Linked DNA regions of Homo sapiens: region 1 is linked to region 2. Evidence: promoter capture Hi-C in 16 types of primary human blood cells and fetal thymus (Javierre and others, 2016). All regions are on one chromosome and are shown on one strand. The core of a region is centred on a gene start or on the middle of the fragment in contact, and the rest is flanking DNA. Distances in the headings are between cores, read along the strand shown.

What was found. The method cuts DNA at HindIII sites, captures the fragments that hold promoters and counts their contacts. A CHiCAGO score of 5 or more calls a contact.
Region 1: a fragment that was not itself captured here is called in contact with the fragment with the promoter of SNN in region 2 in 2 of 17 cell types (M0 macrophages and monocytes); the score reaches 5.9 in M0 macrophages.

What each region holds. Positions count from the first base shown.
Region 1 is chr16:11,365,291-11,372,103 of GRCh38, forward strand. The region is part of intron 1 of LOC105371082 (a long non-coding RNA gene); the gene reads left to right. It overlaps LOC400499 (putative uncharacterized protein LOC400499), which reads right to left. Exons shown (of 67, transcript NM_001370704.1): 67 at 6,725-6,813. Among named protein-coding and RNA genes, the nearest start is that of RMI2, 23 kb to the left of the region's middle. RefSeq lists enhancers at 5,190-5,249, 5,435-5,935. The HindIII fragment of the contact is 1,153 bases long and covers 4,167-5,319 here.
Region 2 is chr16:11,667,090-11,673,981 of GRCh38, forward strand. It overlaps SNN (stannin), which reads left to right and starts at 1,366. Exons shown (of 2, transcript NM_003498.6): 1 at 1,366-1,451. RefSeq lists silencers at 1,039-1,458, 5,948-6,017 and enhancers at 2,566-2,665, 5,590-6,409. The HindIII fragment of the contact is 10,329 bases long and covers 1-3,929 here.

The DNA.
Region 1 (6,813 bases), core at 3,493-5,992, 300 kb before region 2:
CTCCTGGATTCAAGCCATTTTTCCGCCTCAGGCTCCCGAGTAGCTGGGGTTATAGGCACCCGGCATCATGCCTGGCTAAGTTTTGTATTTTTTGTAGAGATGAGGTTTCACCATGTTGGGCAGGCTGGTCTTGAACTCCTGACTTCAGGTGATCTGCCTGCCTCGGCCTCCCAAAGTGCTGGGATTACAGGCATGAACTACCGTGCCTGGCCTTTCTCTGGTGTTTAGTGTATACACAGTGGTACAACCATCACCACTACTAATTCGAGAACACTTCATCACCCTAAAAGAAATGCCATACCCATTAACAGTCAATCCCACAATCCTCCCATCCCCCTCAGCTCTTGCAATCATGAATGTACTTTCTGTCTATATGAATTTGTCTGTTTTGGACATTTCCTTCCAATGTAATCATACAATATGTAGCATTTCGTGTCTGGCTTCTGGCACTCAGCATGGTGGGTTTTTAAAATTTTTGTTGTTGTTTTGAGACAGAGTCTCACTCTTTCGCCCATGCTGGAGGGCAGAGGCACGATCTCGGCTCACTGCAACCTCTGCCGCCCTGGTTCAAGTGATTCTTCTGCCTCAGTCTCCCAAGTAGCTAGGATTACAAGTACCTGCCACCATGCCCAGCTGATTTTTGTATTTTTAGTAGAAATGGGGTTTCACCATGTTGGCCAGGCTGGTCTTGAACTCCTGGCCTGCAGTGATCCACCCGCCTCAGCCTTCCAAAGTGCTGGGATTACAGGTGTGAGCCACCATGCCTGGCTCAGCATGGTGTTTTCAATATCCATTCATGTTGTGGCCTGTATCAGTACTTCATCCCTTATTATGACTGATTCCTTTTTATGACATAATATTCCATCATATGGATAGACCACATTTGGTTTATCCACTCATTGGTGGATGGACTTTCGGTTGTTTTTCCTAATTTTTGGCAAAAGGGACTTGTTGACACCTAATGGAACTGCAGGAGTCCCAAAGCTGGGCCTTGGTTTTAGGAAAGACTTAACCAGAAGTTAGGGAAAGGACAGCACAGTATTTGATGTTCCTCATGAAAAATGCCATTTTCTCAGGTGGCAGTTGTTATTGATAGAGATGAGGTCTCACTATGTTGTCCAGGATGGTCTCAAGCTCCTGAGCTCAAGTGATCTGCCCACCTTGGCCTCCCAAAGTGGTGAGCCACTGTACCAACCCCATTTTCTGCATTTTTAATTGTTCCATCAAAAAAGTAGGAAGCCGACATATTATCTGTTTATCTGATGTTAATAGAGTTTTATAATTAATGTTTACATAGATATCTTTTTTCATCCTGTGTTTTCATCTTACCTGCTTTTCTATGTACAGTGTGCCTCTTCTACACATTATGTAGGTGAGTCATGTTTTTGTTTGTGTTTTTTTAAATTTAGTCTCACTATCTCACTTTCACTTGGAGTGTTTATTTCACTTACTTTCGTTCAATGGAACTTCTCTCTGTTTTTTTTTTTTTTTTTTTTTTTAGAGACGGAGTCTCGCTCTGTCGCCCAGGCTGGAGTGCAGTGGCGCAATCTCGGCTCACTGCAAGCTCTGCCTCCCGGGCTCACGCCATTCTCCTGCCTCAATTTCCCAAGTAGCCAGGACTACAGGCGCCTGCCAGCATGCCTGGCTAATTTTTTGTATTTTTTAGTAGATGGGGTTTCACCGTATTAGCCAGGATGTTCTCTATCTCCTGACCTCGTGATCCGCCCGCCTCGGCCTCCCAGAGTGCTGGGATTACAGGCGTGAGCCACTGTGCCCAGCCCAATGGAATTTCTAATGTATGCTGTTTGTGTTTTTTGTTGTTGTTTTTCTTTTAGACACAGTCTTGCTTTGTTGCCCAGGCTGGAGTGTGCAGTGGCATGATCTGTGTGCAGTGGCTCACTGCATCCTCCGCACCCCTCCCCCCGCCCTGGGTTCAAGCGATTCTCCTGCCTTAGCCTCCCGAGTAGCTGGGATCACAGGTGCACGCCAGTGCGCCCAGCTAATTTTTTTTTTTTTTTTTGTATTTTTCATAGGGAGCCAGCGCACCCACCTATTTCTCTTTGTCTCTTGTTCCTCCTTTCTTGCCTTCTTTTGGATTAATGGAGTGATTCTTCACATTTCCTTTTATCTCTGTTGACTTCTGGCTATATCTTTTTGCTCTATGTTTTTAGCTATATATGTTTTCTTTAGCGATTGTTCTAGGGATTACAACACACACCCTAACTTTTCACAGTGCACCTACGGTGCTTATGACACCACTTGGGCAATAAGGCAGTAAAAAGGAATGAAGCACAGACATGGGCCACACATGGGTGAGCCTCGAACTTTATGCCAAGTCCAAGCAGCCAGTCACAAAGGGCCACGTATTGTATGATTCCATTTATGTGAAATGTCCACACATGGGTGAGCCTCGAACTTTATGCCAAGTCCAAGCAGCCAATCACAAAGGGCCACGTATTGTATGATTCCATTTATGTGAAATGTCCAGAATGAGAAAATCCAGAGAGAGAGAGGGAGCAGATTACTGGTCACCTGGTGCTGGGGAGGAAGGAAGAACTGGGAGGGGGGATGACTAAGGATAACAGGGTTCCTTGTTGGGGAAATGAAAATGTTCTAAAATCAATTGAATTGTGGTGATGGATGCACCGTTATGTAAGTATACCAAAAGCCACTGATTTTGACACTTTATTTTTTATCTCTGTCTATCTATCTATCTAGGAGACAGTCTCCGTCTGTTGCCCAGGCTGGAGTGCAGTGGCATGATCTTGGCTCACTGCAACCTCTGCCTCCCAGGTTCAAGCTATTCTCCTGGCTCAGCCTCTTGAGTAGCTGGGATTACAGGTGTGTGTGACCATGCCTGGCTAATTTTTGTTTGTTTCAGATGGAGTCTTGCTCTGTCGCCCAGGCTGCAGTGCAGTGGCACGATCTTGGCTCACTGCAACCTCTGCCTCCTGGGTTCAAGTGATTCTCCTGCCTCAGCCTCCCGAGTAGCTGGGATTACAGGTGCCCACTACCTGTGACACCCAGCTAATTTTTTTTGGACTTTTAGTAGAGATGGGGTTTCACCATGTTGGCTAGGCTCGTCTCGAACTCCTGACCTCAGGTTATCCACCTGCCTTGGCCTACCAAAGTGCTGGGATTACAGGCGTGAGCCACTGTGTCCAGCCCCATAAGGTAGATTTATATTCACCTTTTAAGAAACCGCCAAACTGTGTTTTGGAGTTGCCATGCCGCCACGTTCCCCCCAGCATGTGTGGAGCCTCCATTTCCACACACCCCCTCTTGATATTGATGTGACATCTTTTTAATGTTGAACGTTTCTCGATAACACATGCAGCATGGCCTTCTTTGCATTCAAAGTGTTTCATATCCCTCAGCAGCATTTGAAAGATTTCTTCATATGGATTGTGTGTGTATATTTTTGCACATTTATTTCTGAGAATTTTGTTTTTTGGGAGTGTGCTGTTGCAAATGGGATGTTTTCTTCTGTTAACTTTTCTAACTGCTTGTTTGTACATAGGAGGACTGAGGCCAGCCTTGGTGGCTCACATCTATAATCCTAGCACTTAGGGAGACTGAGGCAGAAGGACTGCTCGAGCCCAGGAGTTTGAGACCAGCCTGGGCATCATAGTAAGACCGCATCTTTATGTTATTTTTTTTTTGAGACAGGGTCTTTCTTTGTCACCCAGGCTAAGTGCAGTAATGCAGTCCCGGTTCACTGCAACCTCCATGTCCTGGGTTCAAGCAATTCTCATGCCTCAGCCTTCTGAGTACCCGGTATTACAGGTGTGTGCCATCACACCCAGCTAATTTTTGTATTATTAGTAGAGGTGGAGTTTTGCCATGTTGGCCAGGCTGGTACCGAACTCCTGGCCTCGAGCAATCCGCCTCTCTCGGCCTCCCAAAGTGCTGGGATTACAGGCGTGAGCTGTGCCCGGCCCCATCTCTATATTTTAAAAATTAAGAAAAAGGAAGGCTGCTTATTATGTTACTTTTGTACCTAACTCCTTAGCAAAATCTGTCTGCCTCATTTTTCAGAGTAAATTATTTTACCTCCTGCTTTTTTCTTAAATGTCTTACTTTCCTCCTTGCCTAGTTTCATCAGCTAGGGCCTCCAAAATAATAGTGGTAACAGAGGGCATTCTTTTGTTGCGAAGGTTAATGGAAGCTTCTGTTGCTTCCATCCCCTATAAATGATGCTGGGCTCTGGCTTGATGGGTGTGTGTCTGGGTGTAATTTCCTTTATCGTGTGTAATTTAAGGAAGTATCCCTCTTTCTAATTTGATGTGTTTTTTTCTAAATTTTGTAGTAAATTTTGTCAAATGCCTTTTCAACATCTACGATGATTATGATTTTTAACATATTAATATGAATGAAATTAGGCTGGGCGCAGTGGCTCACACCTGTAATCCCAGCACTTTGGGAGGCTGAGGCAGGCAGATCACAAGGTCAGGAGGTCAAGACCATCCTGGCTAACATGGTGAAACCCCATCTCTTCTAAAAATACAAAAAAGCTAGTCAGGTGTGGTGGCGGACGCCTGTAGTCCCGGGAGGGTGAGGCAGGAGAACTGAGTGAACCCAGGAAGCGGAGCTTGCAGTGAGCCTAGATCGCACCACTGCACTCCAGCCTGGGCAATAGAGCGAGACTCCATCTCAGGAAAAAAAAAAAAAAAAAAAAAATATGTGTGTATATATATATATATATATATATATATATATATATTTGAAATTAAAAGATGTTCTAATTTTGAGCTATCCTTGTCACACTGTACAATTCTCACTTGGTTTAGGTCACTTTTTTTTTAAGGCCCCAGTGGGGTTTGTTTGGTAATATTTTATTTTGGATTTTCTTACCTTGATTTGTATGTAAACATCTTACCTTGTTTTGTTTTGGAGATAGGGCCTTGCTCTGATGCCCAGGCTGGAGTGCAGTGGTGTGATCATAGTTGATTGTGATTTTGAACTCCTGGGCTCAAGTGATCCTCCTGCCTCAGCCTCCTAGACAGGCATGTGCCACCATGCCTGGCTAATGATTAAATTTTTTTAGAGACAGAGTCTTGCTATGTTGTCCAGGCTGGAGTTCAGTGTATATTGTAGACGTGAATTGGTCTTTCCGCTGGAATCATTCCCTCTCCTATCTGTTTCAAATTCATGCATAAGTACTCCACCCACACCCCCCAGTTGGAAAGTATTGATGTTGTCCAACCTGCCTTGAGAAGGGAGAACTATGTTTCCCTCTTTGTATCTCTGCTGGTGTCCAGTCCACTGCTGTGTTTTTGGTAAATACTTGACCCATAGAATGTGGGAGGCAGGAAGGAAAGCTTCTGCGTTTCCTTTCTGGACCAGAAATCATGGATCCGTTAAGCATATTGAGAAACCAACAGGTCAGGTGGCTGCACACTCTAGTTGCATCTGACTCTGAATTGCTCATGGGCCCCTGAGCACCAGTGATTTGCTTTTCTTTTATTGCAAAAGCAGAAGTGGGGGTTGAGTGAGCTTGGGCAGCCTTGGGAGGCAGGCAGGCCCGCGTCAGTGCCATCCTGGCTGTTTGTAGCTTGTATGACCTTGGGGAAATCCCCTCAACTCTCTGAGCCTTTGTTTCTTCTCTCATTAAGTGGGGATCATCCGTTCCTCATTGGACTATTGTAAGGCCTAAGATCAAACTTTTTTTTTTTTTTTTTTTTTGAGATGGAGCCTTCGCTCTGTCGCCCAGGCTACAGTGCAGTGGCACGATCTCCGCTCACTGCAAGCTCCACCTCCCGTGTTCACGCCATTCTCCTGCCCCAACCTCCCAAGTAGCTGGGACTACAGGAGCCCGCCACCTCACTCGGCTAATTTTTTGTATGTTTAGTAGAGACGGGGTTTCACCGTGTTAGCCAAGATGGTCTCGATTTGCTGACCTCATGATCCACCCACCTTGGCCTCCCAAAGTGCTGGGATTACAGGCGTGACCCACTGTGCCCGACCCAAACTTTTTTTTTTTTTTTTTGAGACGGAGTCTCACTCTGTCGCCAGGCTGGAGTGCAGTGGTGTGATCTTGGCTCACTGCAGTCTCCGCCTCCTGGGTTCAAGCAGTTCTCTGCCTCAGCCTCCTGGGTAGCTGGGATTACAGGCGCCAGCCACCATGCCCGGATTTTTTTTTTTTTTTTTTTTTTTTCCAGTAGAGATGAGGTTTCACCGTGTTGGCCAGGCTGGTCTTGAATTCCTGACCTCATGATCCACCCGCCTCGGCCTCCCAAAGTGCTGGGATTACAGGCGTGAGCCACTGCACCCAGCCCCCAGATCAAACATCTTTCAAGGCACTTGGAGCAGTGCCTGGTCTCCAGGGTCTTTAGGCTGTAACCACAGCAAAGCACTCAAATCACAGCCACTCTCCCTTCTGTCTTCCCTCCAGTGTGGGGGTGTGGAGGACCAACCTTCTTGTTCCCATTCACCCTGGAGTTCTTTCTTCTGAACTTCATCTAGCACCTGCTATGCACCAGGGATTCATGGGGGGGATGGTGGGGCGGAGGTCAAGGACGGTCAAGTCTGGCCTTCAGCTTGCCTCAGTCCCCGTGGCTGATGCCTTGCCCTTTGCTCTGGAATCTGGGCCCTACAAGCTCCTACCAGGCTCAGTGCAGAGAGGGCTCGAGGGCACCCCCTATCGGTGAGCAGATTCCATAGCTGCCCACGCCTCCCCCTCTCTTGAGTGGATGATCAACCCCAGCAATCTAGAGACATGTTCTTGGATTCTGCCAGCTTTATTTTTCAGTTGAAAACTCAAAGGAAAAAGTTACATTCCCAAAAGAAAGTAAAACACTTCCAATGATGTAG
Region 2 (6,892 bases), core at 116-2,615:
AGCCTGAGTGACAGACCAAGACCCCGTCTCAAAAACAAAACAAAAAACCCCAAGGGAGCTACTCTTGGCTGGGCGATCAGGGAGGGCCCTCCTGAGGAAGGGGCACTTAAGCTGAGATCGGGAAGATGAAGTAGAAGAGTTCCAGCTGCAGGGAGCCACATAGGCAAAGGCCTGGCGGTGGGAAAGGCTTGGTGCACTGGGCGCAGGGAAGAAAGCCCAGCGAGGCTGAGTGGAGGGAGTGAGGGCCTGGCCACCTCAGCCTCGTGAGCCCAACCCGCCATGCTCTTCCAGAGGCTTCTGCTTGAGAATGGGAAAGAAGTTTCCAGCAAATAAGGCCCCCGTTCCCAGGAGGAGGTCCCAGCTCGCCCTGCCCCCTCCTGTCTTCTCAAGTCCCCTGGGCCACAGAAGCCTTGAGGGACCCACCCTCACCCCTTCTGTGGGCCCCAGGGCTGGGGTGTCCTCTCGCCGATGGCCTTCTTGGGGTGGATGAGTGGAGATTACTCCAATAACTGGAGCCTCTGTCTTCCCAGGTAGACAGGCCTGGCCTCAAAACCCTCTCTCCATCAGGAGCAGGCTGTGGGACTTCAGCTCTTTGGAGCCTCAGGTTCCTCATCTGTAAAATGGGAAGATTCTTTCTTCCGGAGTCATCTTAATAAAATGTGTTGGGCTGTTTATACAGGGCAGGCATTTGGTGGGGGCCAAACCACCGGGTAATTATGCTAAAAATAACTATGATTATAGGTGGCAGAGGGGTGCAAATGCCTCACAGCCTCATCCCGCAGAGGAATGAGAGCTTCGTCAGGGCCGGGACCTTGTCTGGCTCGTGGCTGCTCCCACGACGACTGGCGTGGCAGGCACGTGGTCAGTGTTCCGCCATCGACTGACTGGGCGGATGAATGATACATAAATGAATTCGCGAACGACTGATGCCCAGCTTCCTCCCGAAGCAAGGTCATTCACCTCAGCGGTCGCGCCTCTCCCCTGCCCCTGCCCCGGATTCCCCGCCGCTCTCAGCTCTCGAGGAGTATGCAGCACTCTTCCGTGCAGCGTGCCTCAGTTTCCTCCGCTGTAAGCAGGCGGGACCAAGGCAGCCTGCCGGGGTCAGGATGAGGCTGGCAGAGGAAGGGCGCCTGTAGTGGGGCCCCGTACCCACGGGCGCCCAATCCGCGCTCGCCAGGGCCGAGCCCGCCCGCCGCGCGCAGCCCCCGCCCCACCGCCTGCCGGCCCCGAGCACACGTGACTCCGCCCCGGCCCGCCCCGCCCCGCCGTCCCAGCGCGGGCTCCCATTGGCCTTTCTGGGAGGCCCCGTCCCCAGCCGGGGAGGAGCCGGGCCCCGCCCGCCGCAGCGCGGGGCTCCTGCGTCCCGAGTGCGCGGCGGCCGGACCGGGCGGGCGGAGCCGGGCCCGCGGGGCTGCTGCGGGGCGATCGGGCCGGGCCGCTGCCGCGCCATGGTGAGCCGGGCGGGGCAGGCCGCGCGCTCGGGCCGGGCGGGGGCGCCGGGGCCCGGGGGCGGGAAGGGGGAGGCCAGGACGAGGAGGGGCGCGCGCGGCGGCGGGGCCGGGCCGGGGTCTGCGGGCGGGGGAGGGGCGGCCCGGCGGGCGCGGCTCGGGGGAGGGTCCGTTCCAGGGGCCGCGCCCGCGGGCTGGGGTTCTTTGTCAGCGGCGCTGCGGCGAGATCCGGACAAAGGAGGCGGCGGGGGGCGGAGGCCGCTTTGTGGGGATCGCGGGGCGCTCGCCCCCGCCCGTGCAGCCCCCGCCCGTCCTCAGCTACGCTCCCGCCTTCCCCCGGCATTTCGGGGTTCTTCAAAATTCTGGGAGCTCCGGGGAGGGCTCCGGGGATAGGGGTCCAGGTGACGTCCGGCGCCCGTCTCGCGGGTAGGGAAACTGAGGCCGGGCCGCAGCGTTCGGCGCCCGGTTCCGTGGGCAGCGGCTGCGCGGCGTGGGCATGCCTAGCTCCCCTGGTCCCCGTCCCACACCCCGCCTCCGTCGGGCCGATTCGAGCTACCTCCCCAGCTGCCGTCCCCTCTCCAGCTGTCGCCCCCTGGGCCGAGCCCCCTCCTCCCTGGAGCCTCGCTTTGCTCCTCCGTGGAGTGGGGGAGACGCCGGCGCCGCCGGGCAGGGTGGAACGGGAGGGTGCGCGGAGCGCGCCTGGCACCGCGCCTGCCACGCCGCCCGCGCTCAGCACTCGGGAGCCGCCGGGGCGCTGTCACCCCTAAGTCCCCAGCACCCAGCCCAGGTCGCCCAGCCCGCCCCAGCGAGGGCCACACTGGGGTTCACCTGTCCGCGGCCCCTCAGGCACGCGGGAGAGGAGGTAGGGAGAATGTGGCATTTTAGAGTCAGGGTCGAAATGCGGGATTTTGGATGCAGGTTGCCTGGGTTTGAATCCCTGCGCGTCTACTTTTGAGCTGTGTGACCTTGGGCAATGGACTTAACTTCTCTGAGCCACCAATTTCTGTATCTGCCAAGAGGGAACAGTAATAGCTCAACTGCCCTGTTGTCTTGAGGCAGAAAGGAGACATCTGCGTGAGCTGTTTATCTCAGTGTCTGGCACATATAATTGCCACCAACTTTCTCCGGCATCTACAAGCAAAGTTGTTTGGCCAAACAGGCCAACCCTGGGGCAGCCTGTGAAAATGACCAGCGGGTGATTCACAGGGTGGGGGCATGAGCCTCTGGCCTGGCCCGAGGAAGACCCCGACTGACCTTGGGGCAGTCCCGGTTCAGAGCTCTGCGGGCTCCCGCTTCCTCTTTTGCCACTGGGGAACCTAGGGGATTCTGGAGCGAGTTTCCTCTTCTGAGGATGGGGGTGTCATGGGTGGGGGTGGAGGATGAGATAACACTGGCCAGAGAGCTGGGCACAGCCCCATCAGTGTCAGTCCCACTGGCATCCGGCCGTTCTTGGTCCTGGCTTCTGGAGGGCTGGGGCCTTGTGTGATGCGTCCTTGTGTCCCACTGGCTGCTGGAGGCCCAGGGCAGAACGGACGTCCCGCCTCGTCCTGGCTGTGTCCAGCAGTGCCCTCTTCTCCCTACAACCCTGTTTTCCCAGTCAGAACCTGGGGCAGGAAACGTTTCTGGTTTGTGACCCGGGGTTCGCTGAAGAGTTTGTTGGCACCCTTGGCAGGTGGCTTTATGGGGGGAGGCAGTACTGAAAGCCCCGTAGGGATGGCTGGTCCCCTGTAAGCAGGGCAGCCCTCCTGGCGTCTGTCAAGGAGCCTCAGGAGGTGGCGGCTGCAAGGCGGGGGTGTTTTGCTGGTGGTGAGCCCGGCAATGCTCATGATGTGCCCGGTTGAGTTAGGAGGAGGCAGCGTGTCCCTGGGGAAGGGGTGTTTGTGGCACTGGGCCTGGGCCAGGCTCTGTGCCCTTCTGGCCCTGGGGGTGGGCTTGGGGATCCCTCGGGCTCAGTGTTCTCCCTTTGTCCCTGCTGTAGCACACAGGAAGGTGTGGCTGGTGACATGCAAACCTGGTGACCTCATGTCCCTTTTGTTTTCACTTTTCTTACCACTTCTCATCCTCCCCACGACCTGGTAGATGAGGTCAGGGACTCGTATCCGCTTTGCGCATTGAGAAACTGAGGCCAAGAGGAGCAGCTTGCTTGGCTGGGCGGAAGCAGGCCGCAAAAGTGAGTGCTGGTCTGGGAGGATGGAGGGGACTCCAGCCTGCTCTACTGCGGTCTGTGGGCCCCCCGGGCCTAGAGCACATGGAGTGGCCTCTGGAGTGGGATCAGGCTCAGACAAGCCGGGGTCCTGGGAGGGAGAGCAGGACAGGAGGATACCCGTCCCCTCTCTGGTAGCTGGGGCAGGGACTGTCCATTTGAATGGCTCTGACGGGGTGGGGTTCACCCCCGGCTCTGCCCCCATGCTCCTTGGGTCCCAGTTACGGATCTCTGTGGGCCTTGGCAAACCCGGCAGGACAGTGTCAGTAACACCTGCAAGCTTGGGCTGCTGGGGAGGAGTGGCCAAGGGCGGTGCAGGCCCCCGCTCACCTGGCATGGCTCAGGCTTGTCTTGCAGTTGTTATTCCTTGGGACATGTGTGGGCTCTGCCGGGAGACAGAGTGTGTCCTGTGCTGCAGTTGACCTCCTTTGGGGTTGTTTGAGGATGCTGGGGCAGGGGGTTCTGGAGAGCCTGGGCCTTGGATCTTGCTTTTATAGTGGGTGGGTGGGATCCGAGAGTCAGGACCCCCTTGGCAGAGGATGGCAAGACTGAAGGCACATGGAGCAGGAGGGTGTGTGTTTGGGGGATCCAGATGGCCTTGGGCTTCAAATGCCAGGCAGAGGGGACACTCCAGCCTGCCCAGAGATGGAAGGCCCAGGCTGTGCTCTGGGTCCTGGCCCCTCTGCACTTGGAAGACCCCTTGGCTCTGCTGGGCTCCCCTCTGGGCTCCCATCCTGCCTTCTGGCTTTTTGCTTCACCTCCCTGCGTGCGCCTCAGTTTCCTCACCTGCCAGATGGAGATGCTAGGGTGAACAAAGGTGGCTGCAGCCTTTCTGGATCAGATGCTGGTGGGAATGAATGTGAGCTGCTGTCATGATGGTTGTTGGGTGGGCCAGGATTCCCATGTGCCAGCCTGGGCATCTCCCCAACCCAAGCTGTGGCCCGTCCCTGTCCCCTGCATCCTGTGGGCTTTACTGGATCAGGGCGAGGGGTTACCCAGCTTGCAAGACACAGCTTTGCTCAGAGGGGCTAGAAAGGAAGAACAGACAGGTGGGGTCCAGCCAGGCACAGGGGCTTGTGGGGACCTGCTGCCCTCCGCGCTTTGAGTTTCCCGGGGCTCTGCTTGGCCACCCCCTTCCCTCCCTGCCTGCCAGCAAGCATGGAGCCAGCTGCCCTTCCATGGGCTCAGGCCTGCCCTAATCCACTGGCACTCGCCGTTCTGTCCCCACACTAGGCCTGCAGCCTTCTCCCATGCAGTCTGCCGGCTTTTTTGAGTCTGTTGGGACAGAACATGGGGACCTGTGCTCAGGGTTCTGGGAGTGCCCTGAGTGTCAGGGACCCCCCCACCTATGATCCCCCTGAGAACAGGGTCTCCTCTAACTCATCACTGTATCTGCAGGGAGGGAACACTCAACAGACCATTCACTGAGCACCTACTGTGTACCCGTGCAGGGCAGGGGTACAGCTGTGGGCGGGACAGACGGTGCCCTCCTTGGACTGCCTTGGAGTCCAGTGCGGGGAGTGAGACAGCAGCCAGGGGACAGCCCCTGAGCCTAGAGAAGGGCAGGTAGCAAGGAGAGCAAATGAAGTAGGGCAAGGCTGTAGTGGTGGGGTGTGGGAGGAGGGGCGCCTGGGTCCAGGGTGGTCTGGGAGGGCAGCCTGCAAGAGGCGCCTTCTGAGAAAGTCCCGAATAGGAAGGTGCCAGCCGTGGGGCGGTCAGGGCAGAGGTGGGAGCGTGGGCTCGCAGCGGAGGGTGTGGGGACGCCTGGGGAGGCAGGGAGCTTGGATTCTCTTTGGTGCTGGGGAGGATTCTGAGTGGGGAGAACGCCATCACATTTTTGCAAAGATCGTTTCTCAGGAAACATTTGCTGAGTGAATGAAGGAACAGATACGCACTCGGGAGGGCCGGACCACAGGCCAGGCGTGACTGTGGCTCAGTCACTGGGCTCTGTGCTCGCGGCGGGGCAGAACCCCACATCTGGCTCTGCCCATGCCTCCTGGCCTGGGTTCAGGGCAGCAGACGGGGTTTTGGGGTCACCACTCCTCTTAGAGAATCCCTTTGAGCTGGGGCCGCCTGTGCCTCAGTTTCCTCATTAGTCCTGGGGCCAGTGGTTGAACTGGGGCCCTTGAACTCAGGTGCCTCCTGGCCTGCCCACCTGGCTTTGCCCCGCCTATCCCAGGTCCTGGTGCCATTGTTTGATTTTCTACTTCCTGTCCCTGAACCACCCCCACCCCCAAACACACACACTTCCCCTTCCGAATTGATACTGACTTGTCTTCCTGTCCAGAAACCCCAGGGGAGGGCAGGCACCCCAGCAGGCCCTGGGAACCAGAGGTGCAGGGGAGAGGGAGGTGGGAGGTGGGAGGCACAGGGCAGGTTGGTGTTCTTCTTGCAGGGAGAGAACACAGAGGTTGGGACGAGTGTAGACAGGCTCACCCAGCCATGGTGGGAAGGCTGTCTGTGGGGTCAGAGGGGTCCCCTGTCCAGTCTGGAGGCGTGAGAGAACAGCTAAGTGGGGTTGTGGAACCGGATGGTGGCAGGGGAGAGGCCAGGGTGGTCTGTACATGCAGGGGACAGAGCAGGGCCACCGTGGAGCTCATGGCCCGCTGGAGGGAGAGGTGGGCGCTAATCAGGTGGCCATGCTCCAGAAGCCAGGGTTGCATGCCAAGGCCACTGCTCCGGAGGGAAGGAGCCCGGCCGGGTTGGGAAAGCTTCCCTGCCAGAGCTGGTATTAACCGGGTCAGGGTGTCTTTCTCCAGCCGGGCCATCTGCGTGGTGGGGGCTGCCCTGTGCACGATAGGTGCCAGCAATATCCATGGTCTCCCTACTTGATGCCAGGAGTGCCACCTGCCCCCAGTTGTGACAACCAGAAGTGGCTCCAGACATGGCCAGATGTCCCCAGGGTGGGGACACAGTGGCCCCCAGTTGAGAACCACTGAACAAGGGTAAGCCGCCAGAACGTTCTGGGCAGGGGCAACTGCCTGGGCCAGGGCCTGGTAGGAGGGTTCGTTGCGGGGGTCAGCGTGGCTGGCGAGCAGGGCATATTGGGGATGTGTAGTGTTCGGTCCTGCAGGTCATTGTGAGGACTTGGAAGGCGTCCTGGCTGCAGTGGCCCCTGAGGGTGGGCAGGGAGATCCTTAGCGCCTGCGGCAGCCTGTCTCCTGGAGTCAGGGGGAAGGCAGTGGAATGGAGGGAGGGCACCTCCTCTGCCCAGGGCCCTCTGCAGAAGCTGCCGGTTTCC